Regions from separate parts of the Homo sapiens genome. Here region 2 is linked to region 1. The links are contacts of gene promoters, found by promoter capture Hi-C in blood cells and fetal thymus (Javierre and others, 2016). All regions are on one chromosome and are shown on one strand. Each heading gives the region's core, a stretch centred on a gene start or on the middle of the fragment in contact. The rest is flanking DNA. Distances are from core to core; before and after follow the strand shown.

Evidence for each region. Contacts are between HindIII fragments. The CHiCAGO score rates a contact against its expected background, and 5 or more counts as called.
Region 2: a fragment that was not itself captured here is called in contact with the fragment with the promoter of IL21R in region 1 in 1 of 17 cell types (monocytes); the score reaches 5.2 in monocytes.

What each region holds. Positions count from the first base shown.
Region 1 is chr16:27,396,594-27,403,423 of GRCh38, reverse strand. IL21R (interleukin 21 receptor) reads right to left here and starts at 1,250. Exons shown (of 9, transcript NM_181078.3): 1 at 806-1,250. RefSeq lists enhancers at 619-738, 631-1,173. The HindIII fragment of the contact is 2,346 bases long and covers 1-2,046 here.
Region 2 is chr16:28,183,054-28,190,314 of GRCh38, reverse strand. The region is part of intron 1 of XPO6 (exportin 6); the gene reads left to right. It also overlaps the pseudogene RNY1P10. Among named protein-coding and RNA genes, the nearest start is that of XPO6, 25 kb to the left of the region's middle. RefSeq lists a silencer at 808-947 and enhancers at 1,340-1,389, 2,474-2,643. The HindIII fragment of the contact is 1,186 bases long and covers 2,041-3,226 here.

The DNA of each region.
Region 1 (6,830 bases), core at 1-2,500:
CCTCCTGGCTTTGAATGTCCCGCACCTGGTCTTCTGCCTTCACTGAGCAGAGACGTCATTCCTGCGGCAAGTCCTAAGTTCCCGCTCCCCAGGGCTCCTCCACCAGGAATGTTCTTCCTTTCCCATCCTTCAAGGCTCAGCCTCCACTGACCTCCCCACCCTCCTCTCCTCCACATGCACAGGGAACTGGGTTGGCCTCTTACCATCCGACCCGTTCCCCGTGCTTCATGAGAAAGATGCAGCGACAGCTCATGGGGTCACCTGGCTTGACTGCCCGACCTGCTACGTCCCAGTTGAGTCACCGAGGGAAAATCACTCTACCTCTCGCAGCCTCATTGCCTCATCTGCGAAATGGGCACACCAGCCATTGTTTTGAATGACTGGGTGGAATCAAGGTGGTAAGACATAGAAACTGACACAGAATGGGTCCCATCAGGCTCTACACCCATGCCCGTCACCTCCCGACTCAGCCGCCCAGAATCGGGTGATTGACATGTTATGTTTGGCTTGAAACTGGCTTTCCTTCCCCAGCCCGCTACATTTTGGAGGCTGGTTTTCAAGATAGAGGGTCGTCTCAGCCACATCCCTGCTGCTGGGCCCCTAAGCTGTGCTGAACAAGAGACCCCAACCTCATTTCTGCCCAGCCTCACTGCATGAATCTTCTTTGCCTCAGTGTCCCCAATTGTGACTTGGGCACAGTCCTCCGAGCCCTCCCACTGTGACACTAGATGCAGCAGGCAGGGAACAGTCCCTCCTGGGCAGAGAAGGCACCCTGGTCCCAGCAGAAAACCAGGGCTGGAATTACCTTCTGTTTCGGCTTCTTTCTCAGAAATCCATTCCGTGTGCTGGGGGCAGTCTGATGGGCTTCTGGGGGTGGCAGCTGGGTTCAGCGTGGGGGTGACAGATGAGGGTCTGAGAAAGCAGGCAGAGGCCTGGGGTGAGAATCCACACCCAGCCCGAGTCACCAATCAGGCTGTCATAAGACCTGTCACTCTGATGACGGGCAGCTGGGCCTCCAGGCAGGTGTCCCACAGAGCAGCAGACAGAGGAAAGAGACGGCAAGGAAGGTACCAGGCGGCCGCAGCAGGGATGCACGGGCCGCAGACAGACAGACACAGCTGCGTGGCTGTCAGCCACACTCAGGGAGAGGCAGGCAGAGGGCCAGACGCCGAGCTTACGGTCACTCAGCAGAGAGACGCCAGTGGGTCTGTCTGAGGCCGCTGGCTGCCACCCAGCCGCATGTGCAGAGTGGGGAGGAAGAGGAGGATGTGGTGAGCCGCTCCCCGCCAGCCCCGCCCACCCGCAGCTGGGCTCCTCCTGGGAGGGAGTGAGAAAGAGGTGGGAGGGGGCCTGGCCCCACAGCAGGCACCCACTGTCACCAAAGGTCACCTGCAAGTAAGACATTTGGGGCCATCGGGGTGACACTTCCCTCTTAGGGACCTGTGACATCATCCCCACAGGCCTCTCAGTCATAACCCATGAGGCAGGCAGTGCCTCCTGGAGCCACCACATTGCACAGATATGGAAACTGAGGCCAGAGGTGTGAAGATGTGGCACAGTTTCACCCGTGGACCCAGAGTCCTCAGTGGCCGACTCCAGCCCCTCAGCACAGAGAGAAGGACCAGAACCTTGCCCAAGGTCCCACGGAAGCCCCTTTTTCAGACTTTGCAAACCAGCCTGTTTCTTATTCCTGAGCCTTACCTGCCTAATAGGGTCTGAGCTTGGGACCCTCTGCTCTGGCTTGACCCCCATGCCTCTCTGCCTCCATTTCCTTTGGATCCAGTCTCCTGCTGCAGAGCTCCAGGGAGCAGGACCCCTTGGGCACGTCACATCACCTCTCTGAATGCCTCACTTTGCCCATCTGTCAAATGGGGGCACCTAGCTATGAGGAAGAGGGCAGACATTAACACATGAGAATTCAAGAAGAAAATAGAGAAAAGAAATTCTCAAGAGAGTTTTCATCTTGCTAACATGCCAGAGGCCCATGAGAGGGTCAGATGTTTCTGGAAGACATTCAAGAAACCAGGAGACAAAATGTAACAAGCTTAATGCCTAGTGCAGTCTCCAAAGGAGAGCAAGAGAATTGCTACCACCACCACCGCTACCACCACCACCACTACCACTGCCATCACCACCACCTCGAATTACTTTGGTGCCTACATGATCTCACTTTATCCCACAAAGTGTGAGGCAGACAAGATTAGTCCCATTTTACAGATGGAGAGACTGAGGCCCAGAGGAGTGAAACGTCACACAAGCCAAGAAGAATTAGAGCTGGGATTTGAACCTGGGTGTGTTTGATTCCTAAGCTTATACCAGGCTGTGAAAACGGGGCCATACCAGGATGAAATGTCCCACAGTTGGGGGAGGCTATTTTATGCTGTTTTGATAACAAGATGCAATTTGTAGCTCTCCCTGCTGACTCATTTTTGGGAATCAACTTGCTGTTGACTTTCGTGACCACTCCAGAGAAAAAAGAGAAAGCGTCTTGCTATTCTTTCTTTCTTTTTTTTTCTAGCTGTTTTTGAGGAACTTGGTACAAATTCCCCTGTGGTTGATTTGAGGGATCCTGGCCCTGTAGAGCTCTTCCCAGCTACCGAAGTGTGTCGTGTTCTCTGGAGAACGAACCTTGGGAAGACACCAGCTTTTGTTTTTCTTTCTCTTGATCTTCGGGGTGAATTCTCTGATAACATGCACTGAAATTTGTAGTGGTTGAAAGATCAGGAGAAGAGACAGTAAAAAGAGCTAATATTTGCTGAAAGCTCATTGTGTGCCAGGGTTTTAAGGACTTTAAAGATGCACCCTCTCATTTAAACCTCAGAAATACTCGAGAAGGCTGTGTGCAGCGGTGCACACCTATAATTCCATCATTTTGGGAGGCTGAGGTGGGAGGATCGATTGAGGCTAGGAGTTCAAGACCAGTCTGGGCAACATAGCAAGACCCTGTCTCTATAAAAAAATTTAAAAATTAGACAGTCATGGTGGTGCACGCCTGTAGTCCCAGCTACTCTGGAGGCTGAGGTGGGAGGACCACTTGAGCCAAGGAGCTGAAGGCTGCAGTGAGCTATGACTGTAGTGCTGCACTCAAGCCTGGGCAACAGAGCAAGACTCTGTCTTCAAAAATAAAATCCCCAAAATGAAAAAGAATGAGTCTAGAAGATAGTTATCATCATCATCATCATCGTCCCTGTTTTACAGATGAGGAAACTGAGGCTCAGAGAGGTTAAGTGACTTGTCCAAGGTCACACAGCTGATGAGTGCCAGAGTTGGGATTTGAACTCAGTCATTTGGGCTCCAGAGCCCGCACTCTTAACTCACTACACTGCTCTGGGGTGTGTATGAAAACAAGGATATTCAATTTCTCCTCCCTCCCTCCTGCCTGCCTTCTTTATCTACCTGCTTTCTACCCACCCACCTACCTATCCACCCATTCATTCTTCTCTGCACCCACCCACCCAGCCATTCCTTGCTTCCTCCCCCTAATATTTATTGAGCAGGCTCAGAGAGGTTAAGTGACTTGTCCAAAATCACGCAGCTTGGCTACATCCTGGGGCTAGCCCACAGAAATATACACACAGTGACAGCCCCCATGGAGCCTATATTCTAGTAGGGAGAGTTAGACAAAAAGAAGTAACAGACAAACTCAATGTAAACTGTACTAAATGTCATAGAAAACCAATGAGAGATCAAGGTTGTGACATTTGGGGGTACACTAGGTGCTAAGAAGTGCCCAGCCATGGGAAGAACATTATCGGCAGAAGGATCTGCAAGTGCAAAGGCACTGAGGTAGGAAAGAATGTGGCTGGCTCCAGGAACTTGAGAACAGCATGGCGTAATACAGTGAGCAAATGGAGGAATAGTAGAAGGTGAAGGCACGGAAATCACACATCTACACCACATGGGACCTCACGGTTTTGGGTGAGGAAGGTAGATTGTTCCAAAGGAAATGGGAAGTCATCATTGGAGGGTTTCATCTTAAGAGTGGCTTAATCCAGTTTACATTTTCAGTTCAGGCCAGGAGTTGGGGAATGGGTGGGATCAGCAGGGGTCACAGTCCCTTGGTGCTTAAAAAGTAGATGCATTTGGAGCTGCCAGGCCCATGTCCACTGGGGTAAACATGAGTCCCCTCAGAAATAGACATGTGGTCCCTTGAGGGGTTCCTCTGGGTCTGTAAATGTCTCATAAGTATGGCCTCTATACCCTTGGAAGGAAGGTGCCATAGGATCTCAGCGGCCCTCCAACCATGCCTCAGTGCTGATAGCTGGTCAGCGGGGAGGAAGTGGTCACATTTGCATTTCAGCCAAGGGGCCTCCTGGGAAAAAATAATTGACACACCCCCTCCCTCAACCCATTTCCTCTTTTTTATTTTTATTTTAAGAGCTTTATTTAGCTATGTTTTACATAACATAAAATCAAGCCACTGTAAATGTACAGTTCAATGATTTTTAGTGAATTTATCGAATTGTGCAATTATAACCACGATCCAATTTTAAAACAATCCCATCACTCCTGAAAGGTTCCTTGTGCCTGCTTATAGTCAATCTCCATTCCCATTCCCAGGGCCACTCGTCTACTTTATGCCTCTACTGATTTTGCTTTTTTTTTTTCCTAGGCATCTCATATCAATATGTTGTCTTTTGTGTTTAGTTTCTTTCAGCATCGCGTGTTTGGGGTTCAACCACGTTGTAGCGTGTGTTGGCACCACATATCTAAAAATCCATTTTTAGGCCAGGCGCGGTGGCTCATGCCTGTAATCTCAACACTTTGGGAGGCCAAGGTGGGCGGATCACTTGAGATCAGGAGTTCGAGACCAGCTTGGACAACATGGTAAAACCCCGCCTCTACTAAAAAATACAATAATTAGCCTGGTGTGGTTGCACACGCCGGGAGATTGAGACCAGCCTGGCCAACATGGTGAAACCCTGTTCTACTAAAAATACAAAAATTAGTTAGGTATGGTGACGTGCACCTGTAGCCCTAGCTACTCAGGAGGCTGAGGCAGGAGAATTGCTTGAACACGGGAAGTGGAGGTTGCAGTGAGCAGAGCTAGTGCCACTGCCCTCCAGCCTGGGAGACAGAGCGAAACTCCATCTCAAAAAAATAAAAAATAAAAATTGATTTTTATTGCTGAAGAATATTACATTGCATAGATATGCCACATTCATTTATCCTTTCATGAGATGATGGACATTTGGAGTATGTCCACTTTTTCCTTTACTACAAACAAGCATGCTATGAACACTTGCATGCGAGTCTTTGTGTAGACATGCATTTTCAAATCTTTTGGATATATACCCAGAAGGAGACTTGTTGAGTTAAAGGTAGTTTAACTTATTAACTTTTAAATAAGTTTAACTTATTAAGAAACTGACAAACTGTTTTTCACAGCAGCTGCCCTGTATTATATTCCCACCAGCAATGTCTGAAGGTTCCCATTTCTCTACGTCCTTGACAATATGTATTTTCTTTTTTTTTTTTTTCTTTTTTTTTTTTTTTTTGAGATGGAGTCTCGGTCTGTCGCCCAGGCTGGAGTGCAGTGGCGCGATCTCGGCTCACTGCAAGCTCCGCCTCCCGGGTTCACGCCATTCTCCTGCCTCAGCTTCCCGAGTAGCTGGGACTACAGGTGCCTGCCACCACGCCTGGCTAATTTTTTGTATTTTCTTTTGTAGAGACGGGGTTTCACCGTGTTAGCCAGGATGGTCTCGATCTCCTGACCTCGTGATGCGCCCGCCTCGGCCTCCCAAAGTGCTGGGATTACAGGCGTGAGCCACCGCACCCAGCAGACAATATGTATTTTCTGTTGGTTTTTATTATAGCCATCCTAGCGGATGTGAAGTGGTATCTCATTGTGGTTTTGATTTGCATTTCCCTAATGGCTAATGATGGTAAGCATCTTTTCATGTGCTTGGTAGTCATTTGCATATCTTGTTTGGAGTAATGTCTATTGAAGTCCCTTGCCAAATTTTATTTATTTTATTTTTTTTTTAGACAGAGTCTTGATCTGTCTCCCACACTGGAGTGCAGTGGTGTGATCTTGGCTCACTGAAACCTCTACCTCCTGGGTTCAAGCGATTCTTGTGCCTCGGCCTCCCGAGTAGCTGGGCTTACAAACGTGTGCCACCATATCCAGCTAATTTTTGTGTTTTTAGTAGAGACGGGTTTTCACCATGTTGACCAGGCTGGTCTCGAACCCTTAACCTCAGGTGATCCGCCCACCTCAGTCTCCCAAAGTGCTGGGATTACAGGCATAAGCCACCGTGCCCAGCTCCTTGCCAATTTTTAAATTTGATTGTTCATCATTTGTTGTTGAATTTTAAGAGTTCTTTGTATATTCTGGAAACTCACCTTTATCAGATATATGAATTACAAATATTTTTCCCATTCTGTGGCTGTCTTTTCACTTTGTTGATAGTGTGCTTTAATGCAAAAAAAATGAAAAAAAATTGACTATAGATTCATGGGTTTATTTCTGAACTCTAAGTTCAATTCCATTGATCTATATGTCTAGCCTTGTGCCAGGATTATCACACTGTTTTGATTACTGTAGCTCTGCAGTAAGTTTTGTTTTGTTTTGTTTTTGTTTTTGTGTTGTTTTGAGACAGAGTTTCGCTCTTGTTGCCCAGGCTGGAATGCAATGGCACAATCTTGGCTCTGCAGTAAATTTTAAAAATGGGAATTTGAGTCCTCCAACTTTATTGTTTTGGCTTTTCTGGGTCCCTTGAAATTTCACATGATTTTTAGGATCAGTTTTTCCATTTTTTAAAAAAGGCCATTGGGACTTTTATAGGAATTGCATTAAATCTATAAATTACTTTGAGGAGTGCAATGTT
Region 2 (7,261 bases), core at 1,384-3,883, 790 kb before region 1:
CTGGGAGGTGGAGGTTGCAGTGAGCTGAGATTGTGCCACTGCACTCCAGCTGGGCGATAGAGCTAAACTCAGTCTCAAAAAAAAAAAAAAATAAAGAAAGAAACTGGTGCACCTCTCCATTGGTAGCTGATTGATGAGTCTTGTTTTTATGCATTCTCCAATACTATGTGGATGAGGTTTCCCAGCATAAAACGTACCATCCTCTGTATACAAAGATGTTTCCTCTAACTGGTCTCCATGGGGAGAAAATATGCTGCTTCCATGTTATCACTGCCACAGTGGGATCAGTTGAACTTCCTGGCCCAGACACCCGGCAGTCATCTTGCTTCTAACTCTTGGTCCTCAGCAGTAATTAGAGGAAGAGACAGACAATCTGACTGGGCACTTTGTGCAAACCCAAGAAATAATAGAGGAATGTTCTGCCATCGATCAACTTTATGGTAGTTTTAGATTAAAGCAGAAAAGTGCTTTTTAATGACTAAAATTATGTTTAGATGCAGCCAGAGTGTATGTTTTAATCAAATATTAAATGTCTGTGTGAAGATATTGTGCAAAGTTATGTCTAGATCTAAGCTGCAGACAAGAAAACAAGAAGCCTTTCTCATGCGAGGGGATGACTTTGTTCCAGATTGTGTTAATAGAGGGGTGGGCGCGCCTGCCCAGCCTTAGCAGTCCTGTTACATGCTGTGGTTGTCTGTTTGCTTCAGTAGAAGACATTTTTTTTTCTCCTGCAACTCTTGTACACAATGTTTAGAATGAATTACATCAATGTATATTTGTACCTCGGTCTTCCCTCTGCTTGGCCTTACGCTGTCCTATCACAGTCAGGCTAAGGAAAGGAACTCACATGGGTGTGGCTGGGGCTGAGATTCTGGCTGGCTGCTCACTGGCTGTGTGTCTTTGAGCGAGTCATCCAGTGTCTCTGGGCTTCCCTGATTGCCCTGCTGACTGCTAGACTGTGGAGGGTCAGTGGGCTTCACCACTTTTTCTTTTTTTTAAATAGAGGAATAAAGTGAGATTTCCACTTCAATATGCTGTGCTTTTTTTTTTTTTTTTTAAAGGAAGTGTCAGCTGGGCGCGGTGGCTCGTGCCTCTAATCCCAGCACTTTTGGAGGCTGAGGCAGGCGGATCGCTTGAGCCCTGGAGTTTAAGACCAGCCTGGGCAACATGGCGAAACCCCAGCTCTACAAAAAATACAAAAATCAGCTGGATGTGGTGGTGTGCAGCTGTGGTCCCAGCTACTTGGGAGGCTGAGGTAGAAGGATAGCTTGAGCCCGGGAGATAGAGTTTGTGCCACTGTACTCCAGCCTGGGCGACAGAGCAAGACCTGTGCCTCCAGAAAACAAAAGGAAAAGGAAAATATCTACGGGCTGGGATGCAAAAGAGCAGTAGTGACCGGAGGGAGAGATGGGAGGAAGCATTGTTCTGAATGTCGTTCTCCTGACTGGGGCTTCCTTGATGCACTTTTCTAGCTTTCTGGCTTTTTGAGCTGAATGACTTCAGGAGGGGGATAGGTAGATGTCACTCGCCCTGGTTCCCATGCATGTTATTTTAAGCTTAGTATTTCATCTCATACTTGTGTGCAGGCCTACAGGTCAAAGATTTTTTTCTCTCCTTTTTTTTTTTTTTTTTTTTTTTTTTTTGCAGTGGTGAAGGGTGTAGGGAAGTGAGAGTGATGATCTGAGAGTTTAGACATCTATGGTAATCCTGTTAGCTTTCAGAGAAAGTTTACATGAGTTTGAATATCTTTGCTAATCGCATGTGTTGTAACACACCGGATATGTTTTGCATACTTTTTAACCTTCGTTGGCAGCAGGGATAGAATCACTTTTCTTCGAAACCTTTATATACAGCAAATAGGGTAATGACACTGTTCTAGATATGCCACAGGGATATTTGAATGGCACTCTGGGATACTAGTCCTCATTTTGTTGAGGTTTGGTATCTATGAGCCCATGAACCTGAATATAGGAGACCCATATGATTCACCTCCTAGTAGATTATACAAAATGAGGCTCTGGGAAAGGATGGCAAAAAGCTTAATAGAAGTGTCTTTAAAAAATAGTCATTTTTGGCTGGGCATGTTGGCCCATGCCTGTAATCCCAGAACTTTGAGAGGCATAGGTGGGAGGATTGCTTGAACCTGGGGGTTTTAAGACTAGCTTGGGCAACATAGCAAGACCCCATCTTTATTTAAAAAAAATTTAAAAAATAGTCATTATTCCCCAAGATTAATTTTGTAAAAAGGTTATGCTTAGAGGGGGTTGTTTTAGAGGCCATTAGGTAACATATTACAGATTTAATCAGGGTTTGAGGAAACCACCTTCTAGCTGCTACATCTTAGGGAAAAGCACCTTATTATCCACCTTCAGTCTCAGTGTTAGCAGTCTCCTGTTTTTCAACACAGATTGAATCTGCGTGTGAGCAGAAGTCTGCTTATGGTCAGAACCCTTAAAGGGGAAAATGTAAAGAGTCACATGTATCTTCAATTTGGAGGAATTACCAGTATTCTTGAGAAACTGAAAGTGATACCAACAGTTTTCTTGTTCCTTTTACTGTCTTGAATTTGGTCTTTAAGATAGTTGAGCCACCAGCCCATGGTAGATATTGTAGAAAATACAGACATACTAGATAGAGCATCTTTCCAGACAGTTGATGTTCTGGGTAGAGAAGCCTAATATCTATGACGTATGAACAGTGACTTTCAGCCCACACTTCATGCCTGACATTGTGTTTACTATGTATTTTACATTTTATTTAATTCTCAGAATGACCCAATATGTTAGGTACTTTTACTGTCCCCACTTGTGCACAAGAAGAAACAGTGACACATTAAATAACTAGGCCAAGGTCAAGCTGCACATTTGGATTCAAACTTGGGGAACCTGACCCTAGAGCCTGCATTTTAAAACTTTTGCCATTCTGAAATGACCAGAGAACAGCACCAAGGGCAAAATTCTGTAGTACTGATTACAAGACAAAGACACAAGATGTAAATGACCTGATCTGTACTGTAATCTGTGTAGGAAAATTCATGAAGGTTAAACTATAAATTGCAGTCTCAGAAGCAAATGCAGGATGGGGCTAGGTACTCGCTTATGAGACCATGAGTGTTCAGATTGGAGTGGCTTCCTATGGCGAGTGACATTGAATCAGGCATGCTTTCCTTCTTATCCTCCTAGTAAACTTCCTTGCTCTTCAAAACCCAAATCACCCCTTTGAAGCTTTCTTTCCTTCAGATAGAGTTAGTTTTCTCTTTGGTCTTCTGAGGCTGTTTATATGTACGCCAGGACTACAGGATGTAACTGCTAGGCCACCTTCAGTTCTTTGAAGTTAGGGACCGTCTTACTCATCATTGTATCCCAGGGGCTTAATTTAAGCAATATCAGTTACTTAGTGAGTATTGAATTCTCATTTCTCCAACAAATAGCTGAGTTGCTTAGTCACTCCAGAATTAAAGCTAGGTTTAGAATAATTGGAGCGGTGTGATGGCATGTGCCTATAGTCTCAGCTTCTCAGGAGGCTGAAGTGGGGAGGATCGCCTGAGCCCAGGGGTTTGAGGCTGCAGTGAGCTGTGATTGTTCCACTGCACTCCAGTCTGGGGTGATACAGCAACACTCTGTCTCTAAAAAAAAAAAAAAATTAGGCTGAATGCAGAGGCTCCCACCTGTGATCCCAGCATTTTGGGAGGCCAAGGTGGGAGGATCACTTGAAGTCAGGTGTTCAACCCCAACCTCGGCAACAGAGCAAGACCCAGGCTCTACAAAAATGAAAATAAAAGCCAGATGTGGTGGCATGTGCCTGTAGTCTCAGCTATTTGAAGCTGAGGCAGGAGGATTGCTTGAGCCAAGGAGTTTGAGGCCTCAGTGAACTAGGATCATGCCACTGAACTCTAGCCTGGCAACAGAGACCATGTCTTTAGCAAAAAAAAAAAAAAAAAGAATAACTGGGGCAGAAAAATCTATATTTAAGAGAATTTATCTGGCGGTAAAGTACTGTTTGGATTGGAATTGGAAAACCTGGAAACCAGGTAAAAGCAATTATAGTAACGTAGGCAGGAGATGATTAGGGCTCCGTAGAAATAGTGGTGAGGGAGAAGGTACAAACCTGCAAAAGAGTGAGAAGCAACAGTCCGCAGACCTGATGGTGTTTGCTGTGGATGGAGAATATGGGGAAGAAGCAAAGGCGATCTCAAATTATGTCACCCTTCTGCTTCTTCCAAGTTTTAATTTTTTTAGGTGATTATGGGTCTTGGTGGACTTAGTAGTCCCTTAATAAATGAGTCAATGGCATAGATCTCTGAACTGCTGACCCATGAGCAGCAAAGTAAAAGGAGCAGATAAAGTCAGGGCAGGCACAGTTGCAAGCTTATCACCTTTGCAGTTTTAACTGTTTCTGGAACAGAAAACTTGGGTTTGTTTTAGATCTATGCAGAGCTCTCCAAGAGTATATTCTGAGCCAAGCTTAATTCGTCATCCTGCCCAAGGATTTTAAGTGTATGTGCCATTTGCTATTGAGGTGAGCCAAGTAACTCTTGGGGAAGCATAGGCTTATGGGGTTGTAATACCTTGTGCTGCCATCCTGGCAGCTCTGAAGACAAGAGATGGTTCCTAGAAATCAGGAGCCTCATGCTCACACTGTTACCTGCAGGCTTATTGCCAGTCCCCAGAGCCATAGTTGTGCTGATAGAGCTAAAATACAGTTTCTAAAGAGTCTGATAACACCAACCTGGACTTTAGAAATGAGGATTTTAAAACATTAAGTGTTTAAAATTGCAGTATATATTTACACAGAAGCAGATAAATTGTAAAGTTGATCATCTTTGTGTAACTAACACTCAGATAAAGAAATAGACTATTACCAGAATCCCTCCTCCTCCAAGGTAACCACTAGTCTGATTATAACACCATAGATAAGTTTTACTTATTTAAATTATTATTATTATTATTTTTTAAGAGGCAAGGTCTTGCTCTGTTGCCCAGGCTAGAGTGCATTGGTGCAATCATACCTCACTGCAGCCTTGAACTCCTGGGCTCGAGTGATCCTCTTGCCTCAGCCCCCCAAGTAGCTGGAATTATAGATGTGGGCCACTATGCCTGGCTTTTTTTTGTTGTTGTTGTTAAAATTAATATAAAGTGAATAATGAAAGGTTGTGTTTTGGTTTCTTTCACTCTACATTGTGTTTGTGAGATTCATCTGTGTTGTTGCATGTAGCAATATTAATTCCTGTTGTCTTATAATATTCTCCTCTATCAAGAAATCACTATTCATCCATTCCAGTGGTGACGGATATTTGGGTTCTTTTGACTTTTTGGGTATTGTGTATAATAGTGCTGTGAACATTTGTGTATGTTTTCGTTTGGTATACATGTAAAAATTTCTGTTGGGTATATATCAAGGAGTAGAATTGCAGGGTCATAAGATATGCATATGTTTAGCTGTCAGTTTTCTAGAGTGGTTGTACCAGTGTATACTCCCACCAGCAGTACATGCATGTGCTGGTTGCTCAGCCTCCTCATCAACACTTATTATTGTCAGTCGTTTAAATTTTAGCCTTTCTGGTAGATGTGTAGCACTATCTTATTTTAAATTTGTATTTTCCTGATAACTAATGAGGCTGAACACTTATTTATAGGCTTTTTGAATACCCTCTTTTATAATTAATTATTTGCCTGTCCAAAAAAATTGAAGTCCTTTGTCTTTTTTTTTTTTTTTACTGATTTGTTGAAGTTATTTTATGCTCTGATATGAGTTCCCTGTTTCCATATTGCAGATAGCTCCTATTTTGTGGCTTTCTTTTACACTCTCTCCATTGTGCCATCTGATGAACATTTCAACTTACCAGTCTTTTCCTTTATGGTTAGTGGTTTATGTGTTCTGTTTAAGAAATTTTTCCCTACCCCTAGCTCGTGAAGATACTCTGTATCTACAATCCAACTGGAATTTTTGTGTGTGAATGTGTCTCACTTAGTTTTAAACTTATCTTACCTTTCCTTAGTTTGTCAAGATCTGTCTGAGGCTTAAATCCCAAGCACAAGGTAGGAGGCAGTCAGATAAATTTTCTTATTCTTCATAAATTAATGCAGCGCAGGAGATAAAGTTTTTGAATAGCCTTTGGGAATGGAAGCCTTGTCTCCCTACCACACGATGGCACTTGGATTTTGTTTTATGTTCTTTGTCCCTTTCATTACTTGAAAGTGTAATCTGCTTGGAGTATTACCTCTTCCTCACTTGCAGTTAATTCCTTAACTCACCCAATCTACTTTCTGGCTTCACCACTTGCTTGAAACAGCTGGCCAAGGTTCCGGTGGCTTTGTTGCCAAACGGGAGCCAGGGAATTCTCCAGTATCCTTGAACCAGTATCCTTGAATGTGCCTTCTATGTCTTTTCTACCTCTGTTCTGATTGTGTGATGTTAGCAAATTCTTGGCCTCCTGATTTTTCCCGCCTATACATTTTACATAGCTTCATTTTGAAATCTAGTCTGAAAAGCCCCACTAGATATGATTGGGAGAAAGCCCTTAAACCTGAGGGCATGAGTCTCTAGTTTCAAAGTAGGCCTGACCACTTTTGTTGTTTTGCTTTGGTCTGTTTTCATTTGGTATCTAAGACCAAATAAAAATGAGATCAGCCATAACTACAGATTAGATAATTCCTTATGGTTTATGTAGCAGTTTTACATGGATCGCCTGATTGGATCTCATATCACCCTGTGAGGCAGGTATTGTTGTTACAGATATAGAAATGATTAAAAATGCAAACAGCACTTATTTGTTCTTGTTGAGAAACACCTGGTAATGCCCCGGATTTGGTTTTGGAGCTTCCTTTTTCATGTAGCCATCATTTAATGGGAAAATGCATCTGGGTTTTTTTTTTTTTTTTTTTTTTAAACTAGTGAAGTGTAGTAGTGAGAACGGGGGAAAGAGTAGAACAAGGAGTTGGATCTGTAACTGACTGCAAACAGTCCAGTGAGATAACTCAGTACCTTTGGGCCAGCCCATCTGGGATTCTTAGGAGTACTTTTGTCCTTCCACTTTCTGCAGGAACTGTAACTTCTTGGGTTGGGGCAGAGAGTAAAGGGTAGATGGGACTGGGAATGGTGGCAGAGTTGGATTCTTTTTGGAGATTATCAGGAACTTTCCAGTAATCATTTATTTCTCAGATCTCTTCCTCAAGAATCTAGTACTAAATAAATGGTGGTGGTTGATTGCCTGGATGTGATAAGCTCAAGTTTGCTGCAGGATCTACTTTAAAATGATTCA